Regions from separate parts of the Homo sapiens genome. Here regions 1 and 2 are each linked to region 3. Evidence: promoter capture Hi-C in 16 types of primary human blood cells and fetal thymus (Javierre and others, 2016). All regions are on one chromosome and are shown on one strand. Each heading gives the region's core, a stretch centred on a gene start or on the middle of the fragment in contact. The rest is flanking DNA. Distances are from core to core; before and after follow the strand shown.

Region 1 (2,893 bases), core at 346-2,845, 360 kb after region 3:
CTTGAGCCTGGAAGGATGAGGTTGCAGTGAGCCATGATCACACTATTGCACTGCAGCCTGGGTGACAGGGTGAGACCCTGTCTCAAAAAACAAAAAACTCCAAACCTCTTTATTTCTAGTTACTCTTGCATTCAATTCTTAGACATGTCTTTAGTTTATTATTACATACTGGGATAATTATGGCTGATATTAATAGGTTTGTCATTTTCATTCCGTCTTGTATTTGGTACCAGATTTTTTTTTGGTAAAATATTGCTTTGATAATATCGCTAGTCTGCTAAAAATTTTAAAATATTCTTTGCTGCTTTCAGAGTCCCAGTGTTTTCCTCTGAAATGCCACTAATAGCAAAAAAGAAGTGAATGATGCTGTTTTCATGTTCTTACCCTATCCACTGCTTTTAGCATTTGTTTAACTCATTCCTTCATCTTCTCATCCCCCAGCAATTTGAGTTAGTGAAGAACTGATTTTCCTAGCCTCAAGTGATCTTTTCTTCTTAATTCCTAATTCCTGTTAATTTGAAAATTAGGCAGATACTTGTAGCAGCATCTTTTGTTGAAGGTGAAAGGTATTTAAGTGATTCATCCTGTTTTACTTGATTACTTACAGAGGTCAGGATATAGATTCCATATGATAACTTCTGTGAAAAATAGAAATGTATACCTTAATTTCCCTTAATAAGCAACAGTTTCTTTTGAAAGAATTATTAATAAGATTATTTCATACAAAAACATGTTCTTATGAGAATATAAGAGTCAGTGTGCCTTTATCTTTAGATTCTTTAATCCAAAATTTAAAAATTAGAAGAAGAAAGTTAGAGTGGTGGTCGCCAGGGGCTGCAGGGAGAGGAATGGGAGTTATTCGTTAAAAGGTGTAGAAGGTGTTTTACACAATGAAGAGAGTTATGGAGAGATGAATGGTGGTCATGATTACACAGCATTATGGATATATTTAATACCAGTGAACTGTATACTTGAAAATGGTTAGAATGGTACGTTTTATGTTATATGTATTTTATAATGTAAAAACTTGGAAAAAAAATTAAGAGGTCAGAATATTTTAGCAAGCAGGTTTTTGTGTTATCTATATGATTATGGCCCAATTTGTAACTTAATATAAAGTGTACCAAACATATTTTCAGTTTTTAAACTTTGGCTTACTAAAGACTTTAAGAATATTGCTAATGTATAATTGACATAAGATCAGGACAAGCTTAATTTTGTATGAATCTATTCGGTAGGAAAGAAATCCTAAATCATATTTAGTTCTGAAACATCATCTCTAAGCATGTTTATCTTGTATTTCAAATATGATAGCAGCTAGCATCTACTTGTATTCTTGAATGTGGTGACAGTTTGTATTTGATTTGCATTCATCACTAACAAAATATAATTCTTTTAAATTTGTTTATATTTATTTGAGAAGAATGATTCAAACTTCATTCTATTGATGTTTTTTATATTCTCATTTTAATAAAGTTTATTTTAAAAGTTAGCTTTGACAGTCTTTGTTTTCTAAGTTTTATGTGTGTAAAATAATTTTAGTTTCAGCAAGTTCGTGAGCAGATGGAGGCAGAGATAGCTCACTTGAAGCAGGAAAATGGTATACTGAGAGATGCAGTCAGCAACACTACAAATCAACTGGAAAGCAAGTATGTTTCCAAATACCTTATTTTTTAATTGAATGGCAGAGTATTTTCTTGAATCATCAAAATATTAATAGCGTTTGATAGTAATTGGTTAGACTTTTGTGTTTTTACATTTGTTTCTAAAATGAGTTACTTTTAAAAACAATTCTCTTTTGCTTTGTGAAGAACTTCTTCAGTTATACATATGTAAACTATGTTATATTAATGTCATACTATTATATACTTATACAAATACATTAATATATATCATATATTACATATTTATATAAACATGTATGTGTATATTGTATATAAACTATGTAATAAATACTAGTACCACCAATGGAATGGTCTACAAGCTTATGAGTTTATAAGTTTTAAACCATCTGTCCCCTTTCACAGTAGCTCCCAAACTTCAGTGTTCTGAAGAACACCTGGCATTCTAATTAAAAGGTGTATTCTTGAGTCCTCCCCTTAAAAGATTATGATTCACTGACTCTGAGGTAGAGCCCAGGAGTCTACATATTAAGACACTTTCGGGCCGGGTGTGGTGGTTCATGCCTGTAATCCTGGCACTTTGGGAGGCCGAGGCAGGCGGATCACCTGAGGTCAGGAGTTCGAGACCAGCCTGGCCAACGTGGTGAAACCCCTGTCTCTACTAAAAATACAAAAATTAGCTGGGCTTGGTGGCACACACCTGTAATCTCAGCTACTCGGGAGACAGGAGAATCGCTTGAACCTGGGAGGTAGAGGTTGCAGTGAGCCCAGATTGTGCCACTGTACTCCAGCCTGGGTGACAGAGTCACACTCCGTCTCAAAAAAAAAAGACACTTTCCTTGTGATAGTGATTGGCTCTGAGGCCATACTTTGAGAAATAGTACCTTAGAGAGACTAGTAATACCGGTACACAGTACCCTGACTGGCTGATTTTTAATACGTTTTCAGAAGACCAGTTTGAAGGTGACACTATTTATGGTCATCCATTTTTCTTGATATTTTACAGTGATTTTAGAATTTGAATAACTCATTAGAATTATATAGGAATTATACAACTAAACTTTATTGTTAGTAGTCACTTGTGTTCTGTTTCAGTTGGGCTGTAAATGGAACTACTAGCTCAGCTCAGCAAAACTAACAAAGTATGTTTTGTTTATTTCTTATATATATTTGTAATAACGGAAGGCTCCTAATCCAGTTACTGTTTTCAGGCAGTCTGCAGAACTAAATAAACTACGCCAGGATTATGCTAGGTTGGTGAATGAGCTGAC
Region 2 (3,156 bases), core at 559-3,058, 310 kb after region 3:
CCTATATGCTGATGGCTCCCATATTTATATCTCCAACCCAGACTTTCCACATGTGCTGTTAGGCCTATCCACTTGGATGTGCAGTAGTCAACTCCAACTAAATTTCCGTATTTTTCCTCAAACATGTTTGATGTTTGATGTTTCCATCAAACATTCAGGTAAAAAAACGTTGGAGTCATCCCTGACTTATTTCTTTCACACTTGGCATTCTGTGCTCTGTCTTATCTTGAAAATATAACCAGAATCCAATCAGTACTTACTGCTTCCACTGCTCACCAGCCTGGTGCAAGCCATTCTTATCTCTTACCTAGATTTCTGCAATTAGCCTCCTAACTGATCTCCCTGCCTCTGCCCTAACTCCCTGCAGTCTTTCCAACACAACAACTGGATCATATTACTTATCTTCTCAGAATGCTACAGTGACTTTCTCTATGCACAGTGAAAGCTGAAGTTCTTATGTCCTTAAGGCCATGCAGAATCTGGACACTTCCACTCTCCTCATTCCCCCTTACCTCTAAGGTTAGCTACTATCATCCCTCTGCTTACTTCTCTCTGGCTCCAATGGTTTTCCTAAGGGCAGCTACATATCAGACACTGCCCTAAACGCTTAGGCTCCATCAATAAACAAAACAGACGAAAAGCTCTGCCCTGATAGAAGTTGTGTAATAGTGTATGTTTGAGGGCAAGGGGAAGAGATAATAAACACAATCAATGAGGAAATTATATACTGTTTACTTCTCCTGGCAAGAAGGTGACAAGTGCCATGGAGGAAACAGAGCTGTTTTTTACACTGGCTGTTACCCTGTAGATACATGCATGGCTTGTTGTCTCCGTCCAGTCTTTGCTTTTTAAATGTCAGTTTCTTAAAAAGATGTGCCTATTTTATTTAAAACTGCACTCCCCTACGTCTGATTCTTGTACCTTGCTCCGTTTTCTTTATAGCATTTGTCACCTTCTGTCATACTATATAATTTCCTGGTTGTGTTTATTGTCTCTTCCACATAACCCTCAAACACAGTATTACATAGCTTCTATGAGGGTAGGCTTTTTGTCTGTTTTATTGATGACTCTTTAAGAGTTCAGAGCAGTGTCTAGCACATAGCAGGTCCTCAATAAGAATTTGTTGAACACAATAATTAAATCCTGGCTGGGTGTGATGACCCACATCTGTAATGCCAGCACTTTGGGAGGCCAAGGTGTGTGGATTGCTTGAGCCCAGCAGTTTGGGACCAGCCTGGGCAACGTGGCAAAACCCCATCTTTAAAAAGAATATAAAAATAGCCAGGCATGGTAGCGTGTGCCTGTGGTCCCGGCTTCTTGGGAGGCTGAGGTGGGAGGATTGCTTGAGCCAGGGAGGTGGAGGTTGCAGTGAGCTGAGATGGTGCGACTGCACTCCAGCCTGGGTGACAGAGTGAGACTGTGTCTCAAAAAAAAAAAAAAAAAAAAAAAAATCTCACATTCCTTCCTTTGATGGATAACTCATTATTGGATACATGTAGTTTTCAGTTTGCTCCTTTCCTCTTTCAGGGATGGTCAGAGAGTGGAAGAAAGTGGCATGGAGCCTTTGGGAGCTGCTTGGTGGAAGGAATGATGTTAGAGTGTGGTGGAGACCCTCTTACATACTCCACATGATTAGGACCATTTGTTAGTTAATTCAAAAAGTTGGTTAAAGCAAGGAATCAAAATATATGTGCACCTTAAATGTTTTCACTTAAAATATTTGATTTTACTTTTATTTGCCTTTTTATTTTTACTGATTTCTTTTCTTAAAATAAAGGTTATCCTGATTTTCCTTTCATAGATTGTACTCTAAAAGCATTATCTATGATTTCTAGTATTGGTTTCTTTAAAGTGGAATGAAAAGATAGGCACTGGGAAACTCTCCAAGTACAAAATCTTTATAGATTTTTCCAGTTATTCATCAAGGCCTTCCAAAGGATTTAATGTCATTTTTATAGAAATAACACCTTTTGACTCTATTTTCATGTTTGATAGATATATAGAAATAAGTGAGTAGGAGAGTAATTGCTAGCCAGAAACAGCTTTCTGAAGACACCAGCCCATGTATTTTTACAAAGGAGGAGAATGTCAGTTAATCCAGTGAGAGATCCTGTAAGACAGCTTCCACTTTGAATAGGTTCCATAGGGGCCGTAGGATCATAGCAGCCTATAATTACTAGAAGAGAATGTTATTTACCCTTATTTCTTTATTTTGACTCTGAGTAACATCTACAATTAGTTTTCAGAACTTATGTGAATTCAAGTAAGTGTACATTGTCTATCAGGAGACATGATGTTACACTGCATTTTCGCTGGAAAATGTGGGACAATTATTATTCTTATGCATGAGTCATTGAGTTGTTAAGGAAACAATCTGGTCTGGTATAATAAGCTGGAAGTCACTAGTTAGGAGACCTACAGGTCTTAGACCTTATTAACTCTAAGGTTTTATGCAAGTTCTTTATTGTCCAGTTCTTTAATTACATAATGTTCTGTGGGGTAGTGGAAACAGCTTGGGCACTAGGGAGCCTGAAGACCTTGGGCTTGAATTTAGTTTTGCTAGTCAGTACCACTTACTGCATGTGTGATCTTAACCTATATTAACCTGCCTAAGGCTCATTAAGGAATTATCTTACCTCAGTAGTTGCCTCATAAGTGATAGCTAACATTGGAGTACATATTTGCTGTCAAACTCTAAATGCTTTAGGTGCATTATCATATCATATCATATTTAATCTTCTCAACAACCTTATGAGGTAGGTACTATTTGGTGAAAACTAGGGAGACAAATAATTTGTTCAAAGACACAAATATCTTTAGGAGGAGCCTGAATTTTAACTGAGGCATTCTGACTTAGAGCCCATTCTTACCCGTTGAGCTGTTTTATAAGAATGCTTTCTGAAGAAAACAAAACGCTGTCCATGTGCAGCTGTCTAATGTTAGGCATTACAAAGCTAAATTAAGGTTATAAGGATCCCCCTCCCCCCCATAGGAATTAGAAGATTAATTCTTAAAACTAGTGATTTAAATTTAAAGACTTGAAGTTTTTCAAGTGGAGAAAACAGTAAAAGCTACTTAAACCACATGCTATAAAATGTTTTAGTTATATGGAAAGCAGTAGATAGAATGTCGTCCTTTTGTTTCCAAGAAACTTTT
Region 3 (3,071 bases), core at 303-2,802:
AGAAGGAATCAAGAGGTTTTAAGAAGGACAGTGTTTGAGATGAATCTGAAAGGATAAACTGAAGTTTTACAATTTTGAGCTAACTATGACATAAAGAAGCTTCAAATGATCATGATATATTGAGCTAATATTGCTCACATATTAAATCAGACATACAGTTTGATGCCACGGTGTACCATATAACACCCTTCCTTAATTTTTTTTTTCCTTTTTGAGATGTGAGCCACCGTGCCTGGACTTCCCCTCTCCAATTTTTATTAAAAATATGTATATAGATAAAGGTCTAGATGGAGATACTGAGTGGTTATTTCTTGGTGATGAGATTATGGGAAATATTTTTATTTTGTTTTTACGTTTTAATATTTAAGATTTTACACATATATTTTACAACAGTAGTTTTATAATTGGACAAAATTATTTTTGTTAAGGACTGGCTAAAATCAAAGTTGCTGGTTTAAGTGTAACTTGGTACAACCTTTTAAAAATCATTTGGCAGTTTGTATTAGTAACTGTGAAAGTGTTGATAGTCTTTTTCACCTAGTAATTTCACTTTTGGGTATCTTTAAAAATCTACATTCATGAAGATGTTCTATGATTTCTTTATAATGGCAAAAAGTGAATGAAGGAAACAAGTTATGTCCAAAAATAGAGAATTACTGCAGTAAATTTTATGTCCACTTAATGTAATTTTATGCAGCTGTTAAACTGGTTATGAAGCTTATGTGGAAATATGAGGAATGCTTATAAAAGTGAAAAGAGGATGCAAAATCGCGTACAACTACTATTACAGTGTAGTAAAATATATGTGATGGGGCAAAAGGTCTAGAAGAAAATACATTGTCCTCATGTTTTTCAATGTGGTTAATATTATTTTCACAATGAAAACAATAATAAGCTTAAAGATTGGGAATCAAAAGTTCCTCACTGGCCCTCTGATTTGAATATAAAGTGTTAAAAATTTATATCCATCATTAACCAGCCCTTAAGCTTCTACAGACTTTAACAGTTTCGTGTCAGCCTCAACGTTTATCTACTTTCTGACCGGTATCCCTGCCATGATTTTCATAGGAAAGAGAGTCAGAAGGGACCTTTCCAATTTTGTCATTTTACAAATTGAAACTCTGAACCCCAGCCTTCCAAGCTAGCAGCAGAACCAGTATGAGGATCCAGGTCTACTAGGTTATCTAATAGTATCTGAGACCATTTACAGCTTCAGGTCCACCCACGAATATTCATAAACTTGACATGTCTGCTGATTGAACCCTGGCGTCACTACCCTTCTTGGCTGGCCTGGGAGGTTTGATTCCTTTCCCTACAGTCGTGCTCAAACTTTCATTCTCTACCACTTGGGGGCCGCAGACGCGTCATCCAGGTCTCCCTTTTCACTTCCCCCTTCCCGCCCCCAGTGTCCGGCAGGGGGCGCCGTGAAACTCTGGATCCGTGGCCCCTCCCCCGGCCAACCGTCGATTGGGCCGGCGCGTGACGTCACTCCGTTTTAGCCAAACAAATGGGTTTCGGGGCGAGCGTTGGGCGCCGCCGCGCCGCGCTGGGTGCTCGGTCCGACTCAGCGGTGGGGAGTGAGCCAGGCCTCCCGCCACCGCTGCTGCCGCCACCACTGCGTCGGGCTGGTGCAGCCCCGGGCCAGGCCGCGGCCGGGGCAGGAGCGCAGGTGGGTCCGGGCCGAGGTGGGGCGTGGCGCGAGGGCCGCGCGACTGGGGTCCGGCGGCGGCCACCGTGGCCGCTCCCCGCCCCCTACCGCCGCCTGCCTGCGCTCCCGGGGCGCGGGGCGGGTGGGGGTGGGGGCGGGGGCGCCGCCCGCGGGTCCGGGGTAGGGACCCGGCCGCCTGCGCCTCCTCCGGTGCGGCTCTTTCCGCGCGCACGGCCCGGGCGCTGAGCGTCCCCGCGGGCCACGGAGGGTCGGGCGGGTAGGGAGCGGGGTCCTGGGTCCCCGCTGAAGCCGAGGAGATTCACGGATAGGCCGTGAGCTTGCACCGGACCGGCGCTCCCACTTACGGGACCCAGGGCGGTGAGGAAGTCAGCCTCTGGACTGGGGTCGCCTCGCCCCTGTCGCGCCCTCCCGGGCTCGGCCACTCTGCCCTTCCCTGCCCCAGCGCAGGTGAGCTGGCGCTTGTCCTTAACCTTCTTCAACGACGAGGCGGGACGGAGGCTCGGACGCCTCCCCAGCCTCTGGGCTGGCGCAAGTCGACTGCGGTTCGTCCTCAGTCCACGATGAAGTCATAGGGCTGTGGGTCCGTGTGTCTGTGACGTCAGAAGATGGGTCCTGGGATGTCACTGCAGGCCCGGGCGGGGACCTGGGCTCACGGAAGGGCCGGGGGGACCCGCAGGGTAGAAAAAGGAAGTTGTCTTCCACGAACGCTTGGAATCGCAGTGGATTTGAATCGAAAGTTGTTCGGTATCAGCATTTTGCAATTTTAATGTAATAGTTGTCAATTTCTTTAACTTCTTGTCCAGCAAGCGTTGCGAGTACAGCTCAGTATAAGACATTTGATTTAGAAAAACTTAAGTCAGGGTAGGAGGTTTTTTGGAGGGTGTAATGTAAAAAGCCTTTTAGGAAGCTAAATTCGTAGTTTGATAGTTTGCAATCAGAATTACTGAAAAAAAAGAGAACCACTTCTAGTGTTGATAAATCAGTTTGCTTTTTTTTTTTTTTTTTAACTGGACATCTATCTGCTTGTTAGCATTTTTTGTTAGAAAATGGCCAGGAGGAGGGAGAGTGGATCTTACATGATTTTTTTTTTCTGTTGTAAAGGGAGGGAGGAGTTTGAATTAATCCAACATTTGTCTTAAATAATAATTACCTGAGGAGTTAATTTATCCAGGTTGTCCCTATCCCACCCTATGGTACCATGCTACCACCCCATGCTACCATGGTTTAGAAGTCAGCAACAAGCTGTTTTCTTGCTTTCTTACTGAGACCCGGCTATAACTTAATATAAAAACATATTCCAGGACCGCTTGTCTGGATAGGTAACTAAAATTTTGTCTGTAGTGCTTTTAAATATGAAATTAGAGAATAAAAAAATGATTTGTCTGTGAATACTGTTTTTCTT

The links. Contacts are between HindIII fragments. The CHiCAGO score rates a contact against its expected background, and 5 or more counts as called.
Region 1: a fragment that was not itself captured here is called in contact with the fragment with the promoter of FBXO34 in region 3 in 1 of 17 cell types (non-activated CD4 T cells); the score reaches 5.2 in non-activated CD4 T cells.
Region 2: a contact is called between a fragment that was not itself captured here and the fragment with the promoter of FBXO34 in region 3, in 1 of 17 cell types (naive CD4 T cells). The highest score is 5.2, in naive CD4 T cells.

The regions. Positions count from the first base shown.
Region 1 is chr14:55,631,693-55,634,585 of GRCh38, forward strand. KTN1 (kinectin 1) reads left to right here. Exons shown (of 44, transcript NM_001079521.2): 8 at 1,543-1,649; 9 at 2,834-2,893. Among named protein-coding and RNA genes, the nearest start is that of KTN1, 53 kb to the left of the region's middle. The HindIII fragment of the contact is 774 bases long and covers 1,209-1,982 here.
Region 2 is chr14:55,583,706-55,586,861 of GRCh38, forward strand. The region is part of intron 1 of KTN1 (kinectin 1); the gene reads left to right. Among named protein-coding and RNA genes, the nearest start is that of KTN1, 5.1 kb to the left of the region's middle. The HindIII fragment of the contact is 4,433 bases long and covers 1-3,156 here.
Region 3 is chr14:55,269,869-55,272,939 of GRCh38, forward strand. It overlaps FBXO34 (F-box protein 34), which reads left to right and starts at 1,553. Exons shown (of 2, transcript NM_017943.4): 1 at 1,553-1,669. FBXO34-AS1 (FBXO34 antisense RNA 1) reads right to left here and starts at 2,210. Exons shown (of 2, transcript NR_184222.1): 1 at 2,014-2,210. RefSeq lists a silencer at 1,605-2,104. The HindIII fragment of the contact is 2,090 bases long and covers 986-3,071 here.